4 separate regions of the Homo sapiens genome follow, and all the other regions are linked to region 3. The links are contacts of gene promoters, found by promoter capture Hi-C in blood cells and fetal thymus (Javierre and others, 2016). All regions are on one chromosome and are shown on one strand. Each heading gives the region's core, a stretch centred on a gene start or on the middle of the fragment in contact. The rest is flanking DNA. Distances are from core to core; before and after follow the strand shown.

Region 1 (3,187 bases), core at 409-2,908, 240 kb before region 3:
GGGCTGCTCACCAACAGAGGAGGCAGGGGCCTCCCATCCTCACCTGTTCCCACCCAGCTGTGCCCCTGTGTCCCACAGCAACCACACGCTGCGCTTCATGTCCTTCCCCGTGAGCGACATCTCCCAAGCCTATCGCAGCGCGCCTGAGCGCACCGAGGACGTCTGGCAGAAGGTGCAGGGTGCTGTCCTAAGCAGGGTGGCACAGCAAGGGGCAGGGGGCAGCCCCCATCCCCAGGCCCTGACCCACCAACCCCATCATCTCCAGATCCAATGGTGCTTAGTGAGGAACAACCACTCCCAGACGTGCCCCCAGGAGCAGGCCTTCAGGTTGCAGCAGGGCCTGGTGACCAGCAGCGCCGAGCAAGTAAACGTTTCCCTCTGGGACACGGGGCATACCCGGGGCATGCAGGGCACAGTGTGATGTGATGGAAAATTGAGTGGGGGAGCATGAAGAGGCACTGCATGGTGCCTATCACTGGACTGAGCATGTGGGGAAGCAAAAAGAGAGGACATGCAGGATATGGGCTTCAAACATATGTGGGCGAACAGCAGGAGTGCACAGGACTCTGGGAGCTCAGCTGGGCATTCAAGAAGGCTGTAGCAATGGGGACCAGGCCAGCCAGAGACATCACCTCCACCACTGTCGGTGCCAGCACCAGTAGCACTGTCTAAGGGGTCCTACCTGCGAAGATGTGGAAGCAGGGGTCCCCTTGACACCCCTGCCACTGTGCTCCAGATGCTGCAGCGGCTGTGTGGACGAGTGCAGGAGGAGGTGCGGGCCCTGAGACTATGCCCCCTGGAGCCTGTGCAGGATGAGCTACTCTACGCTCGGGACCTCATCAAAGATGCCAAGAACTCCCGGGCGGTGAGCCCTCCACAGGCTACCCTTCCCCTGAAGTCTGGAGAACCCAAGAAGGCCGACCATGCTAAGCCATGACAGCCCTGCCCTGTGCATCTGCCTTCCTAGCCCAGGGACCCCAGAGACCTAGCAAGTCCTGGTTCTGGCCTGCTAATCATAACCCCTTCCTTCTCCAGCTGTTTCCCAGCCTCTATGAGCTGGGCCACGTGCTGGCCAATGATGGGCCTGTGCGGCAGAGGCTGGAATCAGTAGCAAGTGAGGTGTCCAAAGCTGTGGACAAGGAGCTGCAGGCAAGTCCTGGAGGAGGGAGGAATCCATGGTGGGAACCTAGTGTTGACTGAGGCCCTAAGCCCAGAGCTAAAGTCAGAGCTGGGAGACTTCTGGAGGGCCAGGAGGACATGCAGAGTTGAGACCACCCACGCTCCCACTGTACCAAGGCATTGCTGCAATATCAGGCTTGGATTTTTTTCTGCTAGCTTTGATGTTGGTCCCTGAACTCTGACCTCCCTGCTCTGGATTTGGATCCTTGGACTGACTGCCCCTGTCTGTATGGTAGGGTGGAAGGAGCACTGACCAGAAAGTGGGGAAGCCTTAGTGTCCAAGGCTCTGCCACTAACAGTTTTGTGACTTAGGCAGGTCCCTCAGTCTCAGCAGGAGGGGCTGGAATAGATAAAGTCTCTTCTGCTGTGGTGCCAGCCCTGATCCTGTCCCCCTTGGGCCTCTGGCCTCCCTTTCCCCCATACTAGGTGATCCTGGAGTCCATGGTCAGCCTGACACAGGAGTTATGCCCTGTGGCCATGCGGGTGGCCGAGGGACACAACAAGATGCTGAGCAATGTGGCGGAGCGTGTCACTGTGCCCCGGAACTTCATCCGAGGGGCACTGCTGGAGCAAGCAGGACAGGACATTCAGAACAAGCTGGAGTGAGAGGCAAAGGGCAGGGCTGGGGCTGAGCTGGATTTGGCCCAGATCACTTAGGGACTTAGGACTGGAGAGCTATCAGCAATGAATAATGAATGGCACAATCTCCATTACAAGGATCAATCTTTAACCAAGTGCAACCTTGCTATTTAGGGTCTGGCTGGTCTTTGCCCTAGAAATCTAAGTGCTGAGCTGGGGTTTAGGAGCCAAGTTTGTGCCCACACAGGTGTACACACACATACCCACACAAATACACCAGGAATGGGATAGCAGGGCCTCCTCGGAGGCATGGACAAAGAAAAGTACCTGAGTTGGGTGCATGGAAGCACTGTCTTCCTCCCAGTTTTCATTGCCCCTAGAGTTCTTTCATTCTGGGTCTGGGTGCCACCACTCACCAAACCAAAGGAAAACTAGTACACATACCTATGAAACAGCTAGGCCCAAGGAAGGGTCTTTCCTACCCTCACAGTAGCAACTAGCAGGGTTTAGTTACTCAGCACCCCAATTACCTAGCTCTGTTCCACTGGGGCTCCAGGGGCCTGACCTAGGGCCCCCTTGCTCCTTCTCCTCGAATTCCTCTTTCCCCACACATAGTTGGGCTGGGGGCTCTGGGGTGGGACTAGACGTGTATTTGTGGAGAAATGAGTGTCAAGGGCTAGGCTGCCTCCTTCAGCAGCCACATGCGCTCCATGGGCAGACAGACCAGGCCAGCTGGCCGTTCTCTCAGGCTTCTGGGAGAGGGAGTGCCTCAGGGGCCATGCGGGGGACTGAGGTGCTAATGTTCTGAGTAGCCCCACCTGTGCCCACAGTGAAGTGAAGCTCTCAGTCGTCACCTACCTAACCAGCTCCATAGTGGATGAGATCCTGCAAGAGCTCTACCATTCCCACAAGAGCCTGGTAAGGCTTCTTCTGCAGCCTGGCCTGGCTCGGGCACGCCCTCCACCCCACATTATCCTGTCTCCCTAATCACCCTCCCCTTCAAGGCCCTGGGAGGTGGGCAGCTTCCATGGAATTCTGTTCACACCTGCCCTTCCCCAGGCCCGGCACCTGACCCAGCTAAGGACGCTGTCAGATCCACCAGGGTGCCCAGGCCAAGGGCAGGATCTGTCCTCCCGGGGCCGAGGCCGGAACCATGACCATGAGGAGACCACAGATGATGAACTTGGGACCAACATTGTGAGCCCCCCGCTCCCTGCTCCTCCTTAATAACCTGGGCCCTGCCCTTAAACCTGCACAACACTGTCCCCTTCCACTGATCTGTACTCCCCTGGCCACCTCACTGTGCCTGGCCTTCTGCCTCCAATCTCAATCCAGCCCAACCTCTTCCCTCATCCCAGTGCCTCAGCCCCCTGAGGAGCGAGGGGCAGGATGGGCTCAAATAAGGTTTCATGAGGAATGGATGGCTCTG
Region 2 (3,249 bases), core at 750-3,249, 140 kb before region 3:
GATTCTCCTGTCCCAGCCTCCCAAGTAGCTGTGATTACAGGCATCTGCAATCATGCCCGGCTAATTTTTTTTTTTTTGAGACAGAGTTTTGCTCTTGTTGCCCAGCCTGGAGTGCAATGGTGCGATCTCGGCTCACTGCAGCCTCCGCCTCCCGAGTTCAAGTGATTCTCCTGCCTCAGCCTCCCGAGTAGCTGGGATTACAGGCATGCGCCACCACACTTGGCTAATTTTGTATTTTTAGTAGAGACGGGTCAGGCTGGTCTGGAACTCCAGATCTCAGGTGATCCGCCTGCCTCAGCCTCCCAAAGTGCTGGGATTACAGGCATAAGCCATGGTGCCTGGCCTAATTTTTGTATTTTTAGTAGAGACAAGGTTTCACAATGTTGGCCAGGCTGGTCTCGAACTCCTAGCCTCAAGTGATGCGCCCGCCTTGGCTTCCCAAAGTACTGGGATTACAGGTGTGAGCCAGCGTGCCCGGCCCCCAGTGGTGACTTCTTATATAGTTATAGTACAATATCAAGACCAAGAAATAAGACATTGCTCCAATGTTAGCTATACTACAGGTCTTGTTCATTTTTCTCATGGATATGCCGCTGTGTGTATGTGTGGTTCTATGCAGTTCTGTCCCACGTATGGATGCATATAACCACCACCATAATCAAGATACAGATTGTTTCATCACCACAAAGGAACTCTCTCATGTACCTCTTTAGTTATACCCTTCTGCCCCCACTTCTAGTCACCTGGCAACCATGAAGCTGTTCTCCACCTCTATAGTTTTGTCATTTCAAGCATGTTATTTGTATATTTAATGGAATATGAATGTTTTTATAGGCACTTTTGCCTTTACCTTAGGTGTCACCATTGTCTATTTTCCTCCACCCGACTGTCTTCAGATGTTTACGTTGCCTGCCTGGCCCCTGCTGGCACTTGAGGTTGTTAACCCTGCCCAGTTGTTAATTAGACCCTGATTTCTTAGTGGACACCTGGCCACTGCCTCTTCCCTAGCCTGGCAGCTGTGGCTTCTGACCCCCTCCCCTCCAACCCCTCACCCTCCAGATGCAGGCCCTGACTTCCTGTGAGTGCACCATCTGTCCTGACTGCTTCCGCCAGCACTTCACCATCGCCTTGAAGGAGAAGCACATCACAGACATGGTGTGCCCTGCCTGTGGCCGCCCCGACCTCACCGATGACACACAGTTGCTCAGCTACTTCTCTACCCTTGACATCCAGGTACTGCAGCCCCTCTAGGACTCAGGTACCCTGAGCTTTGAACAGGGACCCTCCCACCCACCACCTCTGCATCCTGTCCCCAGCTTCGCGAGAGCCTAGAGCCAGATGCCTATGCGTTGTTCCATAAGAAGCTGACCGAGGGTGTGCTGATGCGGGACCCCAAGTTCTTGTGGTGTGCCCAGGTAAGTGGCCTGCCCAGGGCAGCTACTGTGGAGGGGCAGGGGATGGTTCCAGGTCAGGCCTTTGATAACTTTATGCTCTTGCACTTCCAGTGCTCCTTTGGCTTCATATATGAGCGTGAGCAGCTGGAGGCAACTTGTCCCCAGTGTCACCAGACCTTCTGTGTGCGCTGCAAGCGCCAGGTGAGGCACATTCATCCTTTCAGAAATACTTGCTGAGCTACTGCCAGGTACTGTGTTAGACTCAGGGGAGTTTGTGTACTGGAGAGCAAAACAGACATGAGCTCTGAGGTCAAAAGAGCTTACAGACTACTCAGAAAGACTAGGCACAAGGAGAAAGGGAAGCAGAGGGAGGGAGGAAATCGGGAGGGAAAGGAAAGGGGAGGAGGAAGGAAGGAAGGAAAGAAAGTAAGCCAGAGGAACTAATTATACATAGGCATAAATTCTATGAAGAAAACAAACAGGAACCTGAGATCAGGGTAACAGAGTGGACCTACTTAGGGTAGAGAGGTCAGACAAGTCTTCTCTAAAATGGTTTAAGCTCAGGCCTAAACATTAAAAAGAAGCCAGCCATGCAAAGAGCATTTGGGAGAGAAAGAACAACACATGGAAAGGCCAGAATCAGAAAAAAGTGTTGTATGGCTGGAGCCTGGAAAGCAAGGCGGGAATGGCAGGTGGTCAGAGAGAAGCCAGCTGCCAGGTCTGTAGAGCCCTGGAGGCCACGTGAAGCAGGCGTCCGTCTGCCTTCATTCTGAGATAAAGCAAGGGTGATACTATCTCATTTATCTTTCGTTTATTTATTTATTTATTTATTTTTAGAGACAACTCACTGTCACCCAGGCTGGGGTCCACTGGTGCAGTCACAGCTCACTGCAGCCTCCAACTCCTGGTCTCAAGTGATCCCTCGCCTCAGCCTTCCAAAGTACTGGGATTACAGGCATGAGCCACTATGCCCAGCCACATTTATCTTTTAAGAAGTGTAATATTTGGCTAGGCATGGTGGCTTCCGCCTGTAATCCCAGCACTTTGGGAGGCCATGGTGGGTGGATCACTTGAGGTTGGGAGTTCAAGACCAGCCTCCCAATATGGTGAAACCCCGTCTCTACTAAAAATACAAAAATTAGCCGGGTGTGGTGGCATGTGCCTGTAATCCCAACTACTCTGGAGGCTGAGGCAGGAGAATCGCTTGAACCCAGGAGGTGGAGGCTGCAGTGAGCCAAGATCACGCCATTGCACTCCAGCCTGGGTGACAGAGCGAGACTCCATCTCAAAAAAAAAAAAAGAAGTGTAATATTTGATACGAAAAAAATTTCATCTGCATCATGTCTGAAATAAAGTGAACACCTGAGACTACCACAGAACCAAAACACCACCAATCCTGTGGAAGCTACCTGACTTACAGTTTTGAAGGACTTTTGACAGCCATGGGGAGAATTGACCCTAGGGGAGCAGGAATGGGAAACAGAGAGACTAGTAACCGAGGCAAGCAATTGAGGCAAGGTCTGATGGTGGCCTGGAGTAAAGTGGTAGCAGTAGGGATGAAGGAAAAGGGGATATGGTTGAGATGGTCTGTGGGGTGGAAACAAGGCAAAAGTAGTGTGAGGTGGTAGGAGAAAATGAAAGGACCAAGGATGGCCTCTCATTTTGAGATCTGAGCAAATGGTAGGTGGCAGTGACATAAACCAAGCTGGGGAACCACTGGATGTGAGTGGAGGGGCCAGCAAGAAAGGCCAGGGGATGGGATAGAGCTCCCATGTGAAGCCTACTTTCCCTCTGGCAGTGGGAGGAGCAGCACCGAGGTCGGAGCTGTGAGGACTTCCAGAACTGGAAACGCATG
Region 3 (3,296 bases), core at 797-3,296:
CCTTGCATTATCTCACACATCTACTCTTTCACACAGCGTCCCTATGCTTATGGAGCTCCCTCTGCTGGAATGCTTTTCCTAACTTCCTTTACCTAATTCTTACCTTTCAAAACTCAGTTCAAGAACCACCTACCTCCTCCAGGACGCTTTCCCAAACCACTTTCCCTAGCCACTCTCCTATGTCATCTGGATGCTCCCCAACACCCCTAGAGTATTCTGTGCATATCTCCCTCTTATAATTTACCATATTCACATTACATTGAAGTGACTGCTTTCTGTACCTGACTTCCTGTTGGAATCTATCTTCATTTTTAATTAAAATTTTTTTTTTTAGAGACAGGGTCTCACTGTCACCAGGCTGGAGTGCAGTGGTGCAATCATAGCTCACTGCAACCTCGAACTCCTGGGCTCAAACGATCCTCCTGCCTCAGCCTCCCAAGTAGATGGTACTACAGGTGCAGGCCACTGTGCCTAGCTAATTATTTAAAAAATATTTTTTGTAGAGACTGGGTCTAGCTATGTTGCCCAGACTGGTCTCCAACTGCTGGCCTCAAGTGATCTTGCTGCCTTGGCCACCCAAAGTGCTGGGACTACAGGCATGAGCCACTGTACTCCACCATGGACTGAATCTTTGAAGAGCAGAAATTAGATTTTATTAGTCTTGGTAACTTCAGTGGTTTACCAATGCCTAGCAAATCATGGATACTCAAATATTTATTTAACTGAAGTCTAGTAAATAAGTAAAAAATGTGCAGTTCAATAAAGTCTTGCCTGAAATAGAGGAAAGCACAGGTCCACAACCCTTTAGTTGCAATTCCAAAATCTCTGCTCTCAAACAAAAAGTTTTTTACTTTTCTTTCTTTTCTTTTTTTTAATACAGTGTCTCGCTGTGTCGTCTAGACTGGAGTGCAGTGGTGTGATCATGGCTCAACTCCTAGGCTCAAGCGATCCTCCTGCCTCAGCCTCCGGAGTAGCTGCTGGGACTGCAGGAACGTGCCACCATGCCTGGCTCAAACACAAAGTTTTTTCATAAAACTCACTTGGCGGCAAAATTCTACCTTACCTGAAGTTATTTACGGGGTTTTTAATTTCCACTTTGAATAAATATTCACATCTTGTTGAGTAGTATTATAGTTTCAGGTAAGGGATTAGGAAAGGAGCTGTTAAGTGGAAGGGCTCTCTCGGGTGGTTTCTGCAACTGTGGTCCCAGAGGAAGCACTCACCTCCTGAGCAACAACGCGAAGGGTGTCCAGATGGCGGCCAGTGATGTAAACTGTGGCGCCTGCTTTGCAGAGCTGCAAGGCAATGCCACGGCCAATACCCCTGGAGGCACCAGTCACCACACACACTTGGCCATTCATGGGAGCTGCCATGACTCACAGGCAAAGGAGGCAGGTCTGTGGAAGCAAAGACTTACTCTGAGGGAAGCCTGGAGACTGTGTGTGTGTTGGGGCGAGGTTGGGGGGTAGGGGAGAACCTCACTAGGGCTAAGAGGAGGAGCCAAGGTAAGAATCCTTTGAGGGGAGAGGAGTCAGAGGCTGACAACTGGGTGCGGGCCTGAGGACAAGGCTGACTGTCTTTTGGGAGGCCCAGAGAGTGAAGAAGGGGCTGAGTGGGACTGTCCAGAGGTGGACAACTACTACAACCCTCTGAGTGTGGCTGCCTGGATATGGGAATCTGGCGCGGCAGCCCCTCGGGGCGCGTCCACGCAGAGTCCTGGGCTATCTGAAGCTCCGGTCCCTGGCCTGACCCAGTCCGGCTGAGCCAGAGGCGCAGCTTCCGGGCCGGGGATGAGCGCGAAGCCTGGAGATCCTAAGCCCTAAGTGGGACGAGCGTGCGCCGCTTACCTGCCACCTGCGCTGCCGCTGAGGTCTGCAGATTGCGGGGCTGCGGTGGAAGTCTGGGTTCTCGCCCAGATTGAGCCGGCGACGTGGAGGCAGTGTTCAAGGATTGATTCTGTAGTAGGACCCGGGGCGATTCTGTGCTGAGGTAGAGGGGCAGAGTCCCAGGCCAAAGTTAGAACCTGCGGATGGGGGCGGAGCGATCTGGGTGACACACCCACCCCGCCCGGCTGGGGCGGCGCGGAACTATGACGTAGTAGCTGCGTCAGGAGCGCGCCCGCGTTTCTAAACTTTGTCTGGATAAGGCGCACGCTTGGCGACGTCGAAGGTCCGTCCGCAGTTAAGGAAGCTTTTGCAGCCGGACAGGTCGCGAAGCACACATGGGGCAGGGTCCGCGCTCTCCACACAAGGTGGGGCGCCGGTTCCCAGCTGGTGGCAAACGGGGGCGCGGGGCCAAGGGGTCGGGGCGCCCCTTACCAGGCCGTAAGCGGCAACCCTGGCCGCCTCCGGATGGGCGCTCGGAGCCGGCTCCAGATTCGCACCCGCACCTGAGCCCGGAAGCTCTGGGATATTTCCGCCGGGCGCTGTCAGCATTGAAAGAGGCTCCCGAGACTGGGGAAGAACGAGGTAGGCAGCAACTTCGGGGTTTAGACCAAGAGCATCAAATCCAGGGCAGGCAAGGAAACTTTCTAGGGTCGGCAGGGCGTGGGGACTTAGTTTCATTTCCCATGTCCTCTTCCTCGGCCTCCGACCCACGACCCTTGGTTAAGCGAGGGTACATAACTGTATTCTCTACTAAGTCTCTTCAAAGTGTGTCTTTCTTCCCTTTTCAGATCTGATGGTGCACAATATAATGAAGGAAGTAGAGACTCAGGCCCTAGCTTTGTCCACGAACAGGACTGGCAGTGAGATGCTGCAGGAACTGTTGGGATTCAGTCCCTTGAAACCGCTTTGTCGCGTGTGGGCTGCTCTGCGCTCTAACTTGCGCACTGTGGCCTGTCACCGATGCGGGGTCCATGTATTACAAAGTGCTTTGCTACAGCTCCCTCGATTGCTGGGGAGTGCTGCAGAGGAGGAGGAGGAGGAGGAGGAGGATGGAAAGGATGGTCCCACGGAGACCCTGGAGGAGCTGGTCCTGGGACTAGCCGCTGAGGTGTGTGATGATTTTCTTGTCTACTGTGGAGACACACATGGCAGCTTCGTGGTCAGAACTCTGCTTCAGGTGTTAGGAGGGACTATTCTGGAGTCTGAGAGAGCCAGGCCCCGTGGTTCCCAATCATCTGGTAAGTATTACAAGAGGAAAGTGGACCTAGGGGGAAGAAGAATTTAGAAAGTTCAGAATGAGACAGTAAACAGAAGAGTAAGTCTTCATGGGGGAGCTTGACCGGGAAGAATTAGCTTGACCTGTCCTAATCTGAACAGGGCTTAGCAAGCCAAAGATTAGTGTGTGCGGAG
Region 4 (3,228 bases), core at 597-3,096, 190 kb before region 3:
ACCACGCAACGTACCAAATTTCAAAATCAAGACAGCATAGGCAAAATTTAGTCTATCAAAATGACTTCACCATAATTATTTTTAAAGATATGCCATTTTATTTATTTCAATAGACACACTGTATACCCTAAGATATAAATGCTCTTACACATTTTGAAAAACATTACAGGTCATAGTGAGATAATCAAGTTCATAGGCTTAAAAATCTTTTATATGCTGCCAGGCGTGGTGGCTCACACCTGTAATCCCAGCACTTTGGGAGGCCTAGGTGGTCAGATCATGAGGTCAGGAGATCGAGACCATCCTGGCTAACATGGTGAAACCCCGTCTCTACTAAGAAAAATACAAAAAATTAGCCGGGCATGGTGGCGGGCGCCTGTAGTCCCAGGTACTCGGGAGGCTGAGGCAGGAGAATAGCATGAACCCGGGAGGCGGAGCTTGCAGTGAGCCGAGATCGGTCCACTGCACTCCAGCCTGGGTGACAGAGCAAGACTCCATCTCAAAAAAAAAAAAAAAAAATCTTTTATACGCAAAAAAATTAATCAATGAATCCAGTGATTAATCTTATATTCTTTCCCATGTGATGTGAAGGACTCAATTTTGTCATAAAACCTCAGTTATTTTAACATTTACCATGACTTTTAAATGTTTTACTCAATAATGTACAAGTTCCATATTACAAAAGCTTGAATTAAAAGATTTTATTCAGGTTTAAACTAATTTGTAAGAAGAAGAGAAAAGAGAATCAAAAAATGAATTGTTAAGGAGATAAGTTTAACAGAAGTTTTTTGTTCGTTTTTCTGGACCTCAGGTGCTATAGCTGTATTCATCATAATCCTTTGTAGAAGCTACACCTTTGTCACCAGTTCATGCAAGCCCTCCCCACTTTGTTTAATGATGTAATGAGCTGGGTATTATTATACTTTTTTTTTTTTTCTTTGAGACGGGGTCTCATTCTCGCCCAGGCTGGATGAAGTGCAGTGGCGCAATCATGGCTCACTGCAGCCTTGACCAGACTCAGGTGATCCTTCCACCTCAGCATCCTGGGTAGCCAAGACTACAGGCCCAGCTCAATTTTGTTTTTGTATTTTTCGTAGAGATGGGGTTTCGTCACATTGCCCAGGCTGATCTCAAATTCCTGTGGTCAAGCGAGCTGCCCGCCTCAGCCTCTCAAAGTACTGGGATTACAGGTGTGAGCTACCACGCCTATTATACTTTCTAATGAAAAAATGAAACCACATCGTTTTTGCATCTATTACATGTCACCAGAAGAAATGATTATCTTTATTTTTTTAACTTGACAATGTAGTTTGCACAATTTCCTATGGTATAAAAATAGAAGGCTACAACAAACCTATACCAGGAATAGGTACCTTAAAAAAAAATTGAAGACTACAACACCATTTTAATAGCTACCTGGTATTTCTGTGTCTATACTACATGGACCATAATTTATTTAACAATCCCATATTGCAAGATATTTAGATCTTTGTTTCCAGTGTTCCACTTTTATCAATAATTGCTATGTAGAACATAAATTTTTATGCATGTCCGGCCTAGATTTCTGGAAGCAGTATTACTGGGTCAAAGTGCAAGGCTGTGAGGAAGGGAGTTTTGTAGACAGCTTCCCTCTAATAAGAAATTCTCCTGGGAAGGTGCAGAGGTAAAAATAAACAAGCTATTTATTGGCATATTTGCTTAGCAGAAATATCAAAAAATGAGGTTACTAAAAATAGACATCCAGGTTTGGAAGTTTGTATTTGAAACAATGAACAATAGTGAGCCATTTGTTGATTTTCTTTTAGAGACAGTCTTTAGCTCTATCCCCAGGCTGGAGTACAGTGGAGCAATCATGGCTCACTGCAGCCTCCACCTCATAGGCTCAAGATTCCCTCCTTCATCCTTCCCAAGTAAGTTGGGACCATAGGCACGCGCCACGATGGCCGGCTATTTTTTTTTTCTTTTTGTAGACTGGGTCTCACTATGTTGCCCAGGCTGGCCTTGAACTCCTGGCCACAAATGATCCTCCTCCTCGGCCTCCCACAGTGCTGGAATTACAGTCGTAAGCCACCGTGCCCAGCTCACTTGTGCGTTAAGCACTAAATGCTGTTAGAGGAGGATTCTTCAGCAGATCAACTACCGGAAGAGGCATAGGTGTTTTTTGTTTGGTTGGTTGATTGTTTTTTGTGTGTGTGTGACGGAGTTTCGCTTTTGTAGCCCAGGCTGGAGTGCAGTGGCGTGATCTCGGCTCAATGCAACCTCCACCTCCCGGGTTCAAGCGATTCTCTTGCCTCAGCCTCTCGAGTGGCTGGGATTACAAGCGCATGCCACCACACTCGGCTTTTTTTTTTTTAGTGACGGGGTTTCACCATGTTGGCCAGGCTGGTCTCGAACTCCTGACCTCAGGTGATCCACCCGCCTTGGCCTCCCAAAGTGCTGGGATTACAGGCGTGAGCCACCGCGCCCGGCCAATTTTTTTAAAAAATGATTCCGTCCTGAGACTTTGCTGAAGTTGCTTATCAGCTTAAGGAGATTTTGGGCTGAGACGATGGGGTTTTCTAGATAAACAATCATGTCGTCTGCAAACAGGGACAATTTGACTTCCTCTTTTCCTAATTGAATACCCTTTATTTCCTTCTCCTGCCTGATTGCCCTGGCCAGAACTTCCAACACTATGTTGAATAGGAGCGGTGAGAGAGGGCATCCCTGTCTTGTGCCAGTTTTCAAAGGGAATGCTTCCAGTTTTTGCCCATTCAGTATGATATTGGCTGTGGGTTTGTCATAGATAGCTCTTATTATTTTGAAATACGTCCCATCAATACCTAATTTATTGAGAGTTTTTAGCATGAAGGGTTGTTGAATTTTGTCAAAGGCTTTTTCTGCATCTATTGAGATAATCATGTGGTTTTTGTCTTTGGCTCTGTTTATATGCTGGATTACATTTATTGATTTGCGTATATTGAACCAGCCTTGCATCCCAGGGATGAAGCCCACTTGATCATGGTCGATAAGCTTTTTGATGTGCTGCTGGATTCGGTTTGCCAGTATTTTATTGAGGATTTTTGCATCAATGTTCATCAAGGATATTGGTCTAAAATTCTCTTTTTTGGTTGTGTCTCTGCCCGGCTTTGGTATCAGAATGATGCTGGCCTCATAAAATGAGTTAGGGAGGATGACAAATGGGATCTAATTAAACTAAAGAGCTTCTGCACAGCAAAAGAAACTACC

Evidence for each region. Contacts are between HindIII fragments. The CHiCAGO score rates a contact against its expected background, and 5 or more counts as called.
Region 1: a contact is called between a fragment that was not itself captured here and the fragment with the promoter of DHRS1 in region 3, in 2 of 17 cell types (activated CD4 T cells and naive B cells). The highest score is 6.8, in activated CD4 T cells.
Region 2: a contact is called between a fragment that was not itself captured here and the fragment with the promoter of DHRS1 in region 3, in 8 of 17 cell types (naive CD8 T cells, activated CD4 T cells, naive B cells and 5 more). The highest score is 8.1, in naive CD8 T cells.
Region 4: a fragment that was not itself captured here is called in contact with the fragment with the promoter of DHRS1 in region 3 in 9 of 17 cell types (naive B cells, naive CD8 T cells, activated CD4 T cells and 6 more); the score reaches 9.3 in naive B cells.

The regions. Positions count from the first base shown.
Region 1 is chr14:24,059,892-24,063,078 of GRCh38, forward strand. CARMIL3 (capping protein regulator and myosin 1 linker 3) reads left to right here. Exons shown (of 40, transcript NM_138360.4): 23 at 79-172; 24 at 266-364; 25 at 737-865; 26 at 1,036-1,149; 27 at 1,606-1,781; 28 at 2,589-2,676; 29 at 2,818-2,955. Among named protein-coding and RNA genes, the nearest start is that of CARMIL3, 9.5 kb to the left of the region's middle. The HindIII fragment of the contact is 4,487 bases long and covers 1-3,187 here.
Region 2 is chr14:24,154,098-24,157,346 of GRCh38, forward strand. RNF31 (ring finger protein 31) reads left to right here. Exons shown (of 21, transcript NM_017999.5): 12 at 1,060-1,233; 13 at 1,317-1,415; 14 at 1,506-1,595; 15 at 3,193-3,249. Among named protein-coding and RNA genes, the nearest start is that of IRF9, 5.5 kb to the right of the region's middle. The HindIII fragment of the contact is 7,637 bases long and covers 1-3,249 here.
Region 3 is chr14:24,297,734-24,301,029 of GRCh38, forward strand. It overlaps DHRS1 (dehydrogenase/reductase 1), which reads right to left and starts at 2,047. Exons shown (of 9, transcript NM_001136050.3): 1 at 1,848-2,047; 2 at 1,224-1,397. The coding sequence starts at 1,373. NOP9 (NOP9 nucleolar protein) reads left to right here and starts at 2,117. Exons shown (of 10, transcript NM_174913.3): 1 at 2,117-2,468; 2 at 2,675-3,124. The coding sequence starts at 2,222. RefSeq lists an enhancer at 601-1,391. The HindIII fragment of the contact is 3,784 bases long and covers 1-2,188 here.
Region 4 is chr14:24,109,197-24,112,424 of GRCh38, forward strand. The region is part of intron 1 of NRL (neural retina leucine zipper); the gene reads right to left. Among named protein-coding and RNA genes, the nearest start is that of DCAF11, 4.0 kb to the right of the region's middle. The HindIII fragment of the contact is 2,327 bases long and covers 684-3,010 here.